Regions from separate parts of the Homo sapiens genome. Here all the other regions are linked to region 3. Evidence: promoter capture Hi-C in human tissues and cell types (Jung and others, 2019). All regions are on one chromosome and are shown on one strand. The core of a region is centred on a gene start or on the middle of the fragment in contact, and the rest is flanking DNA. Distances in the headings are between cores, read along the strand shown.

Region 1 (2,700 bases), core at 143-2,642, 210 kb before region 3:
TGTCCTTTAGGGGTTTCCCGTAAGGGGGGTTTGTGGGGGTTTCCTGTAAGGGGTGTCCTGTAGGGAGTGTCTTCAAGCAGTGCCCCTGTACGGGGGTCCTGTAGGGGTGTCCTGAAGGGGTTTCCTGTAGGGGGTGTTCTGTAGGGGCGTCCTGTAGAGATGTTCTGTAGGGGTGTCCTCTAGGGGTGTTCTGCAGGGGTGTCCTGTAGGGGTTTCCTGTAAGGGTGTCCTGTAGGGAGTGTCCCGTAGCAGTGCCCTGTACAGGGGTCCTGTAAGGGTGTACTGCAGGCGGTGCTCTGTAGGGAATGTCCTGTAGATGTGTCTTTTATGGGGTATTCTGTAGGGGATGTTGTTTAGGGGGTGTTCTGTAGGGGTGTCTTTTAGGTATGTTCTGTAGGGGTTTTCTATAACGGGTGCCCTGTAGGCTTCCTGTAGGGTGGTCTTGATGGGGGTGTCCTGTAGCAGTTCCCTGGGCAAAGCACACCTGCTCTGACTTCAGAGCGAGTGCCTGCTGCGTGGGGTGATTGCATCTTCCGCACCTGTGCAGCTGATATCCATGTTCTTGGGGTCTGACCCTGACCTTTCTTGCTCTCCCTGCCTACAGCTGGGTTCCTGGTGCTGGTGGGGCCGGGAAACACTCCTAGGTTCCTCTGAACAAGGACCTTACATTACCGCCACTTCTCCGTAGGGATCCTGGTAATCCCTAAGCCCTCGGGCTGTGATGGGAATGAAGGGGTCACCCTCATTAGATCCTGGGAGCAGTGACCAGCTCCCAGCAGGTGCTGTCTGACCGTCAGCATCATATGGGCCAACTTTCCAGAAAAGCAAAGTAAGCCCCAGAGAGCACAGGTGTCCCAGGCCAGTGTCCCCATGTCCTGACTTAGCACCCTTGGCCCCTTCTCTCCCATGGTTGTGCCCTGATATATGGAAGGGTTGTGCCCTTCCGTATAGGGGCTGGAGGGATCCGATCAGCTTGGGCAGCCTGACCTTGACTCCTGCCCTTTCCTGATGCCCCCTCCATCTGTCTTTCCAGCCTTCCCACTGCAGGCCCCTCCTCAAGCTGGGGCTGCTCTCCAAAGTCTCCAGCCCTCCCCACTTCCCCCCTACCCTCACCCCACGCTCAGGAGAAGCTGATGGGGCTAATTATCGCTAGATGATAATTTTTCAGCTGATAATCACATGCTCTGTCCCTCCCACCCACACCCCCTGCCTCCTGGCCCCTTTTCAGGCCCCAAAGCCAGGTCATCAAGGTCAGGGTAGAGTGGGGCTAGGGCGGTGACCAACTAGCCCTGGTTTTCTTAGGACTTTCTTTTTTAGCACTCAGAGTCCAACATCCCAAGAATTCCCCTCTGTCTTGGGAAAAGGGGGATGGAACCCAGGCTGGAACCCAGGACCAGCATCGGGGCTTTCCCCACACAAGCCACAAAGACACCAGAAGCTGTGCCCATAGGAAGAGGCCTCCCCCAACTCCCTGCAGCCCGCAGTCCAGGCTGGTGATCCTTGGCAAAGCCTGCCCTGCCAGCGCCCGGTCCCGGGGTGCCCAGCCCAGGAGCCACCTGCCCCTGTCCCTCCCCTGGTGTGGCCAGCGTCTTACCCAGGGCAGCACACACAGCAGCCAGAAGCAGCAGCACCAGGAGAAGCCTCATCGCGGGGTTGTCCGCCAGGGACTGGGAGCCACAGTGCAAAGGCGCCTTTATATGGTGGCCGGCGACTGAGCCAGACCTGGTAATTTAGCCGGAAGATGCGCTGGGGAGAGCAGGGCCGGCCTGACTCATGCCACTAGGCCTCACTCTGCCCCACCTCCAGGACTCTCAGAAGGCTCCTGTGCCCCCCTCTCTGCTGTCCCTTGGTCCTGAGCCTCTGGGCCCCTACTCCCTGCAGCTTGGGCCCTGTCCTGGGTGTTCTCAGAGGGTCATGGCTCTACCTCTGCAGCCTGGGGGGACTGCCCAGCGCACTTGTGAGTACGTACAGCCCCCTCCCCGCTGCTTCTGAGTATGTGCAGCCCCTCCCCGCCGCTTCTGAGTACGTACAGCCCCCTCCCCGCCGCTTCTGAGTAGGTACAGCCTCATCCCTGGTGCTTCTGAATATCTATGGCCCCCTCCCCTCTGCACTCTCCCTTGCACCAGGGTAGGCAGGGGTCACCAAACCCATTCTAATGGGGAAACTGAGGCACTGGAGGCTGGAAGCTTTGAGCCAGTGCTTCTTAATCTTCAGTGTGCACACAAATCACCTAGGATCCGGTCGAAATGCTGGCTGTGGAGGCCTGGGCGGGGCCTGGAATGGTGCAGGCTCCTTGGGGTGGTGTTGCCTGTCTAGGGTAGGCTTAGCTTGGGCCAGTGGCAGAGCCAAGGTGCACAGGGCAGCCTGGCCATGTCTGAATCACTACCCATCCAACCCCAGGCCAGGCCTGGGGGACTGTGGGGTGACAGGGATATTCTAGGGTCACGGGACATGGCCTGTTTACAGTGGGGCTGGCCCCATTTCTATCCTCAGGGTCTCTCTGGGGTTCTGGAGGCTGAGGGGCAGCAGCTCACAAGCTCAAATCCCCTGGGAGTCTCTCCTCCAACCCCCAATGTCTCCCTGCTTCAGGATGGCTCCCCTTCTGGTCTCCTTCCACCTCCCCCTCCTCATCCTGTCTGCCCTCCCCACTGGGATTGGCTCCAGTCCTCTCTACCCCTTGCATGAGACACTTACACTCAC
Region 2 (2,700 bases), core at 191-2,690, 160 kb before region 3:
CAGACCTAATAGACATCTACAGAACTCTCCACCCCAAATCAACAGAATATACGTTCTTCTCAGAACCACATCACACTTATTCCAAAATTGACCACATAGTTGGAAGTAAAGAACTCCTCAGCAAATGTAAAAGAACAGAAATCACAACAAACTGTCTCTCAGACCACACTGCAATCAAATTAGAACCCAGGATTAAGAAACTCACTCAAAACTGCACAACTACATGGAAACTGAACAACCTGCTCCTGAATAACTACTGGGTAAATAACGAAATGAAGGCAGAAATAAAGATGTTCTTTGAAACCAATGAGAACGATGACACAATGTACCAGAATCTCTGGGACACATTTAAAGCAGTGTGTAGAGGGAAATTTATAGCACTAAATGCCCACAAGAGAAAGCAGGAAAGATCTAAAATTGACACCCTAACATGACAATTAAAAGAACTAGAGAAGCAAGAGCAAACACATTCAAAAGCTAGCAGAAGGCAAGAAATAGCTAAGATCAGAGCAGAACTGAAGGAGATAGAGACACAAAAAACCCTTCAAAAAATCAGTGAATCCAGGAGCTGGTTTTTTGAAAAGATCAACAAAACTGATAGACTGCTAGCAAGACTAATAAGAAAAGAGAGAAAAATCAAATAGACAAAAATGATAAAGGGGATATCACCACCAATCCCACAGAAATACAAACTACTATCAGAGAATATTATAAACACTTCTATGCAAATAAACTAGAAAATCTAGAATAAATGAATAAATTCCTGGACACATACACCCTCACAAGACTAAACCAGGAAGAAGTTGAATCGCTGAATAGACCAATAACAGGCTCTGAATTTGAGGCAATAGTTAACAGCCTACCAACCAAAAAAAGTCCAGGACCAGATGGATTCACAGCTGAATTCTACCAGAGGTACAAAGAAGAGCTGGTACCATTCCTTCTGAAACTATTCCAATCAATAGAAAAAGAGGGAATCCTCCCTAACTCATTGTATGAGGCCAGCATCATCCTGATACCAAAGCCTGGTAAGGACACAACAAAAAAAAGAGAATTTTTTTAGACCAATATCCCTGATGAACATCGATGCAAAAATCCTCAATAAAATATTGGCAAACCGAGTCCAGCAGCATATCAAAAAGCTTAGCCACCAAGATCAAGTTGGCTTCATCCCTGGGATGCAAGGCTGGTTCAACATTGGCAAATCAATAAATGTAATCCAGCGTATAAACAGAACCAAAGACAAAAACCACATGATTATCTCAATAGATGCAGAAAAGGCCTTTGACAAAATTCAATAGCCTTTCTTGCTAAAAACTCTCAATAAACTAGGTATTGATGGAATGTATCTCAAAATAATAAGAACTATATGTGACAAACCCACAGCCACTATCATACTGAATGGGCAAAAACTGGAAGCATTCCCTTTGAAAACTGGCACAAGACAGGGATGCCCTCTCTCACCACTCCTATTCAAAATAGTGTTGGAAGTTCTGGCCAGGGCAATCAGGCAAGAGAAGGAAATAAAGGGTATTCAATTGGGAAAAGAGAAAGTCAAATTGTCCCTGTTTGCAGATGACATGATTGTATATTTAGAAAACCCCATTGTCTCAGCCCAAAATCTTCTTAAGCTGATAAGCAACTTCAGCAAAATCTCAGGATACAAAATCAATGTGCGAAAATCATAAGCATTCTTGTACACCCATTACAGACAAACAGAGAGCCAAATCATGAGTGAACTCCCATTCACAATTGCTTCAAAGAGAATAAAATACCTAGGAATCCAACTTACAAGGGATGTGAAGGACCTCTTCAAGGAGAACTACAAACCACTGCTCAATGAAATAAAAGAGGACACAAACAAATGGAAGAACATTCCATGCTCATGGATAGGAAGAATCAATATCGTGAAAATGGCCATACTGCCCAAGGTAATTTATAGGTTCAATGCCATCCCCATCAAGCTACCAATGACTTTCTTCACAGAATTGGAAAAAACTACTTTAAGTTCGTATGGAACCAAAAAAGAGTCTGCATTGCCAAGACAATCCTAAGCCAAAAGAACAAAGCTGGAGGCATCATACTACCTGACTTCAAACTATACTACAAGGCTACAGTAACCAAAACAGCATGGTACTGGTACTGAAACAGAGAAATAGACCAATGGAACAGAACAGAGGCCTCAGAAATAACACCACACACCTACAACCATCTAACCTTTGACAAACCTGACAAAAGTAAATGGGGAAAGGATTCCCTATTTAATAAATGGTGCTGGGAAAACTGGCTAGCCATATGTAGAAAGCTGAAACTGGATCCCTTCCTTACACCTTATACAAAAATTAATTCAAGATGGATTAAAGACTTAAATGTTAGACCTAAAACCATAAAAACCCTAGAAGAAAACCTAGGCAATACCATTCAGGACATAGGCATGGGAAAGGACTTCATGACTAAAACACCAAAAGCAATGGCAACAAAAGCCAAAATAGATAAATGGGATCTAATTAAACTAAACAGCTTCTGCACAGCAAAAGAAACCACCATCAGAGTGAACAGGCAGCCTACAGAATGGGAGAAAATGTTTGCAATCTACCCATCTGACAAAGGGCTAATATCCAGAATCTACAAAGAACTTAAATTTACAAGAAAAAAATCAAACAACCCCATCATAAAGTGGGCAAAGGATATGAACAGACA
Region 3 (2,700 bases), core at 178-2,677:
ACATTTGGCCCCAGCAGTCTTGGGAGTCTCCTGTGTTGATGTCTTCTGTGTTGAGTGAGAGACAGGATAAATGGTTTGAGAGTTTTTTCCAAACAGCCCTCCTCCTAATGCAGCTTGTTTTCTGAATCAGAGGGTCCTGTCTTGAAGGGGGCAAACCCACCCGTGCTTTCGTCCCACAGTTCTTACTGAGCCCCTGCCATGGCAGGGATGGCCCCAGGTGCCGGCTGCAGAGACAGAACCCCCTGCCCTCACCGCCAACATTCCAGAGGGGAAGATGCCCTGCCTGTGCCCCACGTAAGACCCAGAGGCAGGGACTCCCCCGGGCCACAGCCTACTGGAGGCTCCTGTCCCCAGAGACAGCTGGGCCATCGCCCCCAAAGCTGTGGAAGCCCCACCCACGATGCCATCATACCACGGCCAGGACATCTCGTGACACACACAGCCCCAGCCTCAGCCTCCATACACACACACACACGCACCACACACACTCACTCATGCAAAACACACACACAGCCACATTGACTGCACCCCTAGATTTGAGACAGGGGTGTTACAGGTGTCTGTCAGCCCCAGCCCCCTCCTGACCACATGGCCACCTGCCCACCCTCACATTTCCGCACACCCTCCCCCTACTCCCGTGTGGGGTTCAGAAGACCCCTCCCTGGTGCTCGCCCTGTCACCCAGAAAGGAAACGCACTGTCAACTGGAGAACAGGCCGGTGGCAGAGCCCCAGCGCCCACAGCCCCTCGGAGAGGGCCTGGCGGGAGGAGAGGCACCCACCGATGGCAGAGCCTCAGTGCCCTCGCAGAAGCCAGCACCCACAACCTCCCACCTCCCAACCCTTGCCGGTCTCCCCACCCCCGCCTGAGGGATGGCCAAGGAACAGCCCAGCCTGGAGCGGGAAGCAGGGACAAGATGACCTCAGGAATCCCAGGCTGCGGGGGTGCCTGCGTCCTCCCCTCCCGAGCTCCACTCCGCAGGCGAGACCCCCAACACTGCTCCCCGACACTCTCCGAGGCACCCCTCCTCCGTGCTCACACCCAAACACGTCTGCTCACCCGTGGGCTTCCCACCCCGAACACAACGAGGACTGTCCAGGTGTCAGTGACGGTCACCCCGACCTGGTCCCCTGTCCGGCCTCGCCAGGTCAGCACCCGCCGCGCGCACAGCAGGGCCGGGTGGAAGGAGGCCGGGCCTGGCCGTGGCTCAGGCGCCACCTCACTGGGGAAACTGGGAGGTGGTCTCAGCCCCCTTCTGGGCCTCAGCTTCCCCATCTATCCCAAGGAGCCGGGGTAGGCCTGGGCGGCGCGGGGACCCCCACCGCGGGCTCGCCGACTCCGCCCGCCGGAGGCCCCTCCCGCGTCCCGCCCCTGCCCCCGCCCCGGGGCCGCGCGGCTGCCTGGGAGGCTCCGGGCCAGCCGCGGTCCAGAGCGCGCGAGGTTCGGGGAGCTCGGCCAGGCTGCTGGTACCTGCGTCCGCCCGGCGGTGAGTCCGCGGGCCCCCGGCCGGGACGCCCCCGCCACCTGCGCGCACGCGCTCAGACCCGGCGGCCTCGGCTGCGGTGCACGCGGCCCCGGCTCAGCCACGCGCGGCGGAAGGCGCCCTGCGGGGGCCGGGGCGGGAGAGGGTGGGAGAGAGCAAGAGGGGCGCACGGGGAGGCGCAGGAGAGGGGCTGGGGCTGCCGGTGGGTTGGTCCCCAGAGAGCTGAGCTTCTCCTCCCATCCCCCGCAGGCCTCCCCGAATGTTTCCAAAGATCTGGGGCGGGAGCGGGCGGAGACTGCCGCCAGGAGCCTCCCGGCCGCCCCAGGGCTGCGCAGCCACTGGAGCCCATCACCCAACTCCAGACGCTCCTGGCTCCTCTACGTGGGCCGGGAGGGACAGCCTTGAGGACTAGGGGAGGGGGCACGGGACCTTGCAGAGCTCCTGGCCGGAAAGGGAGGATTGACCGCCCCCGGCATATCACCCCGGAGCACTGGAACCCGCCCCCGCTTCTTGTTTTGGCACTGGTGGTGCTTGCGGTGAGGTCCAAGGAGCCCAGCCTCCCTGAGTGGACCGCCGGGCCCCTCCCCGTTCCGGGACACAGGAGAGGCTCCCGCCCCTTGCTGGCTGGGCAGCCCCTAGATACCTGGCTCCCAGGGGCCAGCTTCCCTGAGCCTGGGGATGAGCCATGAGCCTGCAGCCTGGGCCCCAGGGGCGCCCCCCACGGCCTGCCGGCTGGCTCCCTCCGGGCTCCATGGCCCACCCGGCCTTCCTAATTGCCTTCGGCTCCCACCGGTGCCTTAGCTCAGCCTGGTGGCCCAGCGGGTTGGGTGCCACCCAGTGAGCAGGTGGCGGCACCAGCTGGACCTGTTTGTGGCCCTGTATGCTAGGACTTCCTCAGAGACAGCTCAGGGACCCCCCCACACCAGAACCTCACTTTAGGGGGGTGGGGGGAAAAGGAATTGGAGATCCTTCCTCCTCGGGCTACTCCCTGGAGGCGGGGATAGGCCCCAGCCGGACTTGGCACTGTTTTTGGCCACCTGGGGCTCCCACTCCCAACCCCAGGATGTCAGCCCAGGTCTCACTGTCCTGGCCTGCTGCTCTCCCCTTAGGGCCTCTGCGGGCCCCTCTCCAGATCTGTTCTCTGAGGCATCCTCCTTACCCCCAGTGCCCAGCACTAGCTCCCCAGGCCCGGGATGTCCCTCCCACTCCTCTGCCCAC
Region 4 (2,700 bases), core at 110-2,609, 180 kb before region 3:
TAAGGCAGAGTGCCAGGTAGGGAGACCATTCAGCACTCAGGATAGAAAACATTGCTCCAAGAATGTACTTCTCTGAGGCCTGACTGCTGAAACTGTCTGCGGTAACCTGAAACCAGTTTTATCTGATGGCTACTGAGACCACCTGCTGCAACTCTAAGCCTCGGTTCACCCACTGCCGTCACTGATTCACTCATCAACCAGAGCTTGCCAGCTCCCCAAAATCCTACTAGTGCCAATGAAACTCAGACAGCAATATGTACTATTTCTCTTCTTTATAAAAAAGAGACATAGTTCCTTTTTTTTTGAGACAGAGACTTGATTTGTCCTGCAGGTTGGAGCACAATGGCACGATCTCGGCTCACTACAACCTCCACCTCCTGGGATCAAGGGATTCTCCTGCCTCAGCCTCCTGAGTAGCTGGGACTACAGGCACACACCACCACACCCAGCTAATTTTTGTATTTTTAGTAGAGACGGGGTTTCACCATGTTGATCACTCTGGTCTTGAACTCCTGACCTCAAATGATCTGCCCGCCTCAGCCTCCCAAAATGCTGGGATTACAGGTGTAAGCCACCGCGAATTTAAAAAAGCCTTTTCTTTGTTCTTTGGACATACTGAAGGCCAGCCAGTCTGCCCCCGTGCCCCTAATTGCAGTTATTTCCTCCCAAATAAAACATTTCAATTTCAGAAATTCACCTATTTTATATGACTTCGACAAGAGCCAAGCCACACTGTGTAGGAGATGCTCGGGTGAAGCCAGCTGTCCCTGGCCACACACAGCTTGAAGGCAAAATGGCAGGAGCTCAAGCGAAAGCCAGGCAGGTCTCCCCCTGAAACCTCTGCACAGGTGGGCGCTGGCGGGGCTGAAGGGCAAGGGCACCGCTCAAGCTGGCTTTGGTCAGGGTTAGGGACAGGGCCGGCTCCAGAGGCGACGGGGTCGCACCCTGAGCGGAGGGGCTCCCGGGGTCCCCAGGGGTTATGGTGATGGCGGGACCCCCTAGAGGGAGGGTCCAGGAACGAGGCAGGTGGACTGGGACCTTGAGGGCAGGGTGGGCCTGGGCGGTGCCAACAGGCTGCCGAGGGTGGCTGCTGTCCCGTTTCTCCAGCAGCCAGGGCCGTGCGCTTCTAGAACATTCCCCGTGGCTTTCCTAAAGGGAGCGTGGATGGAGCCAGGGTGTGCAGATTTCTGTGAGAAATATTTTCACCTGGGAGCCCCAAGGGGGACCCTGCCCACCTTTGAACACTGGCAGATGGGCTGGAGGCCTGGAGCCTGGGGACGGGGCTTTGAGGGTCCGGAAGGAGGGCGGGGCTGTGCGGCCGGCGGAGGCCCCCGAAAGTTCCAGAAAGCGGGTGGGGAGGTCGGCGCGGGAGGCTCAGATGGCTGGAGGCGGCGGGCACGCACACTGCGGGGCTCCGAGGGGCACAGGTCAGTTTCCTGAGGCGGGTCGGGACCCAGGCGTGAGACTGGAGTCTGCCCAGGGGCCCAGCTGAGGCAGCCTCCTCGTCAGCTGCTTGGGCCGCCAGGACGCCGCCGGGGGTGCGCCGCGCTTCCCTGGATGGGGTGCCCCCACTCCCCTCGGAGCCCCAGGGAGACCCCCCGAACTCAGCTCCTCTCAGGGGTGCCAGGGGGACCCCTCAAAACTCCACTCCCCGCAGGTTCCTGGGGAGACGCCCCCTGCTCCATTCCCCTCAGGGTCCCAGGGAGACCCCCTAATTCAGCTCCTCTCAGGGGTACTGGGGGACCTCTCGAGCTCCACTCCCATCAGGGTCCCAGGGAGACCCCCCAACTATGCTCAGGGGTCCCAGGGAGATGCCAGCACCCCAACTCCGCTTCCCTGGGGCCCCCCTCCCCTTACAGCTCAACTTCCCTCGAGAGTCTGGGGCTGGGGCTCCGTTCAGTTCTTGAGTCCCCTTCCCTCGGGGTGTCCCGGGGCCGCCCACCCCCACACTGTCTGTGATTCCCCAAGGCGCGGGTCTCGGGCCGCAGCCTGTTCCACGTTCTGCTGCTCGTTCTTTTCTGGCTCCTTGCTTTCGAAGGAGAGAAGGAGGCCTTCGTTTCCAGTCTTTTTGCCTTTTCTAATGGAGCCCTGCTTTTCCTTCCGTGTCCCTTCAGGCTACTTCTGCCAGGTTTCTATTTTTCATTCTTTATTATGACTTTGCCCAAAATATTCTTGACTTCTATTGAGAAGGATTTGGGGGTCTATTTCTTATTTGGAGGTGTGTTCTTAAGTTCCAAACAGATGAGGATTTTCCAGTTAATCCTTCTGGGGTGACTTATTGCTTAATGCCACCATAGTCAGAAAATGGACTCTCAGTGTCCGAAACTGCATTCGGCTCTGAAGTGTCTGTCCTTGTCACCTCTTGCAATGTTTTTTGCCTGGAAGCCTGCACTCGCCGACGCTGACGTAACTGTTTCTGCCTTTCAGTTCTACAGCCTCCTTTGCTTTGTGATATTGTCATATACTTTATTTCTATATATGTTATGAACTCAATATTTCTTGTAGTGGGTCTGCTGATAATAAGATATTCCTACTCTTTTTGTCTGAAGCCATCTTAAGCTTACCCTGTATTTGCCCCATGCATCTCTTCCGTTTCACGGTTCCTGAGTTGTCACCTTTGTGATAAACTGGTAATAGTAAGTAAACTGTTTTCTTGTGCTCTGTAAGCTGTTCTAGCAAATTATCTAGGAGGAGGTGGTC
Region 5 (2,700 bases), core at 83-2,582, 150 kb before region 3:
ATGATGCCTGACCTGCAGAGAAGAGTGCCCACAGAGCTCTTCAAGGATAAAAAAACTCCCTTCCCAAATTGATTTCTGACAGTCATGGTGAAAGATACTTCCTTGGGCCTCCGGGGATGGGTGGCCTCCGTGGATTGGCACAGATCTTACATGATCAATCTGCTTTATCATTTCACTCTCCTTCAGGCTTTGGATATGTTCCTCTATGGTGAACTAAGATTGTCCTGGCATTCATTTCATGTCGGCCATATTTTGTTCATATTTCAGCCAACCAACCAGACTATTAGAGCCCATTTCTAACTCTCAAACTATCCAGAATCTCTGCTTGGAGGGCCCATATCAATAAATTCAGCCTGAATCTAACTTTTCTTTTGTTCAACCATGATCCCACCCACTTAAAATTCATTTCCACTTGTTTTCCCCTGATGCATCTGCATGTATTGGGAATGGCACATGGTTGTTTTAGAGTGTAGCACAGCTCCTCCTGGGTCACACTTTTACCTCATCTTTTGGGGCCTGCTGGTACTTAAGTGTAGCTCTAGGTCTAGAAGGAAAGAGAGATGGTGCAGTAGGTTCTGAGACAAATCAACAGTGTCTTGCAAGGCAGCTCCCTCAGGGAGGCCATTACAGGTTCTTCAGGCAAAGCAGAGTTTCTGCCATCCTCAAGGACACCTTCCCCTGTGCTGCCTCAGGCTTGTGCCCTTCTCCACACAACACTCACACACCTTCACCTAGGAGAGTGAGAAGGCTGGAGCTGGGGAATTATTTTCCAGCCAGAGGTGGACATTTCCAAGGACAACTCTTAAGGAAGAAGAGAGCCCAACAGTCCCTCTCTATCAGTAAAAGGGCTGAGACATGTGAGCAGGGCTAGACTGTGCTCTTTTCCAAAAAAGACCCTGCCTGCTATCTTGGATATCTGGGTCCTGGCTCCTCCAAACCCTATTGCCAATCCTTGCTTGTTTGTTTTTTTAAATTCCACTGCTGGATACATGTACAGGAAATTTTTCAGGATAAGTGCAAGTAAAGCTGAAAAATGCTGTTGAAAGTGAAAGTGCCCACACAAAAGAGTCCCCAGAGAGCTTCTTCATTTCTTTCCATCATGTGAGGACACAGTAAGAATGTCCTATCTATGACTCAGGAAATAGACCCTCCCCAGACACCAAATCTGCCAGCACCTTGATCTCAGATGTCTCAGGCTCCAGATCTGTGAGCAACAAATCTCTGTTGTTTCCGAGCCACCCAGTCTGTGGTGCTTTGTTATAGCAGCTTGAATAAACTAAGACAGAAGATTGGTACTGAAAGATGGGGTGCTGCTGGGTAATTGGGTAGAGGCTAGAAGGGTTTTGAAGTGCATGCTAGAGAAAGCCTATGTCACCATGAGCAGGCCCTGAAGGATGCTGCTGGTAAGGGCTCAGAACAAGAGGAGGAGGGCTGTAAAGAAAGCCTCCATCTTCTTAGAGAATATCTAAGTGGCCATGGACAGAATGGTACTAGAAATATAGATGATAAAAACCATTCTTATGGGACTTCAAACAGAAATAAGGAACATGTTATTTGGAAACTGGGGGAAAGGTAGTCCTTGTTATAAACTGGCAAAGAACTTGGCTGAATTGACTTTATGTCCTAGTGTTTTATGTAGAGTAGAACTGGTGAGTAATTAAATAAGATATTTGGCTGAAGAGATTTCTAAGCCAAGTGTTTAAGGTGCAACTTGGTGCTCTTGAATGTTTATAGTAAAATAGAAGAAGAGAAAAATAATTTGAAGATGGATTTTTTTTTAAATCAAAAGGGAAGCAGAACTTAAAGATTTGGGAAATTGCCAGTCTGTCCATATTGCAAAATATGAGAAAGCATGTTCTGGAGACAGCACCAAGGGTGTGGCCAAGGGACCATTTGATAAGATTAGTATGGATCAGCCAGGTGTTGTTCACCAAGACAATGGAAGAATGACCCTGGAGGCATTTTAGAAATAACTGGGGCTGCCACTGTCACCACACACCCAAAGTGCAAGAGTCTAGGGGGACAGAATATTTTTAAAGGATGGGCTATATTTTTCTGTAAGACCTTGGCACTCACTCCCTTGTGCTACCTCAAGGCTCTGCTCCCCACATTCTGGAGTTCTGTTCATTGACCACCCCAAGTGGGCTCCAGTAAGCTTATGTGGGTCATGTGCCACAGTGGCTGCCCCTCCAGAGGGCACATGTAGTAAACCTTGGTGGTGTCAACATAGGGTCATCTCTGCTGGAGTGAAGGTTGCATGAGCTGTGGGGTGTGGAAGCCTGCACCTGGATATCAAAGGGTGGAGTGGCCCACAACTTCAGGCACAAGACTGAGGCAGAGGGCTGCTGTGAAAGCCATGCCTAGTGGAGGCAGCAGAGCAGGACAGCCCAGGATCCCAGGTAGGTGAAGCTACCGGTGAGTCATTCCAGTCTGGGAGACCTGCAGGAATGCAACTCCAACTCATGAGAGCTGCACTGCAGCTGCACCCAGCCAAGCTGCAGGGGCAGAGCATCCTGAAGCCCTGAGGGAAACAATCCCTGCACCACTATGTTCAGAAGATGGAAAATCCAGTCAAAGGAGATTATTCTTGAGGCTTAAGGTTTAATACTGTTTGTCACATTCAATTTTGGAGTTGCTTGAAACTTGTTACTCCTTTCTTCTTTCCTGTTTCTCCTTTCTGGAATGGGAATGTTTATCCTA

Evidence for each region. Contacts are between HindIII fragments. The study calls those that stand out against the background at their distance.
Region 1: a fragment that was not itself captured here is called in contact with the fragment with the promoter of LY6E in region 3 in 1 of the 25 tissues and cell types used here (lymphoblastoid cells).
Region 2: a fragment that was not itself captured here is called in contact with the fragment with the promoter of LY6E in region 3 in 2 of the 25 tissues and cell types used here (dorsolateral prefrontal cortex and lymphoblastoid cells).
Region 4: the fragment with the promoter of GML here is called in contact with the fragment with the promoter of LY6E in region 3 in 8 of the 25 tissues and cell types used here (H1 embryonic stem cells, adrenal gland, dorsolateral prefrontal cortex and 5 more).
Region 5: a contact is called between a fragment that was not itself captured here and the fragment with the promoter of LY6E in region 3, in 3 of the 25 tissues and cell types used here (liver, lymphoblastoid cells and spleen).

The regions. Positions count from the first base shown.
Region 1 is chr8:142,804,497-142,807,196 of GRCh38, forward strand. No RefSeq gene overlaps it. Among named protein-coding and RNA genes, the nearest start is that of LY6D, 19 kb to the left of the region's middle. The HindIII fragment of the contact is 9,093 bases long and covers 1-2,700 here.
Region 2 is chr8:142,852,578-142,855,277 of GRCh38, forward strand. No RefSeq gene overlaps it. Among named protein-coding and RNA genes, the nearest start is that of GML, 19 kb to the left of the region's middle. The HindIII fragment of the contact is 3,594 bases long and covers 1-2,700 here.
Region 3 is chr8:143,017,102-143,019,801 of GRCh38, forward strand. LY6E (lymphocyte antigen 6 family member E) reads left to right here and starts at 1,428. Exons shown (of 4, transcript NM_002346.3): 1 at 1,428-1,485. It overlaps LY6E-DT (LY6E divergent transcript), which reads right to left and starts at 1,289. Exons shown (of 2, transcript NR_026913.1): 1 at 1,059-1,289. The HindIII fragment of the contact is 17,617 bases long and covers 1-2,700 here.
Region 4 is chr8:142,833,442-142,836,141 of GRCh38, forward strand. GML (glycosylphosphatidylinositol anchored molecule like) reads left to right here and starts at 1,360. Exons shown (of 4, transcript NM_002066.3): 1 at 1,360-1,427. The HindIII fragment of the contact is 25,891 bases long and covers 1-2,700 here.
Region 5 is chr8:142,869,773-142,872,472 of GRCh38, forward strand. CYP11B1 (cytochrome P450 family 11 subfamily B member 1) reads right to left here. Exons shown (of 9, transcript NM_000497.4): 9 at 2,585-2,700. Among named protein-coding and RNA genes, the nearest start is that of CYP11B1, 8.7 kb to the right of the region's middle. The HindIII fragment of the contact is 7,306 bases long and covers 1-2,700 here.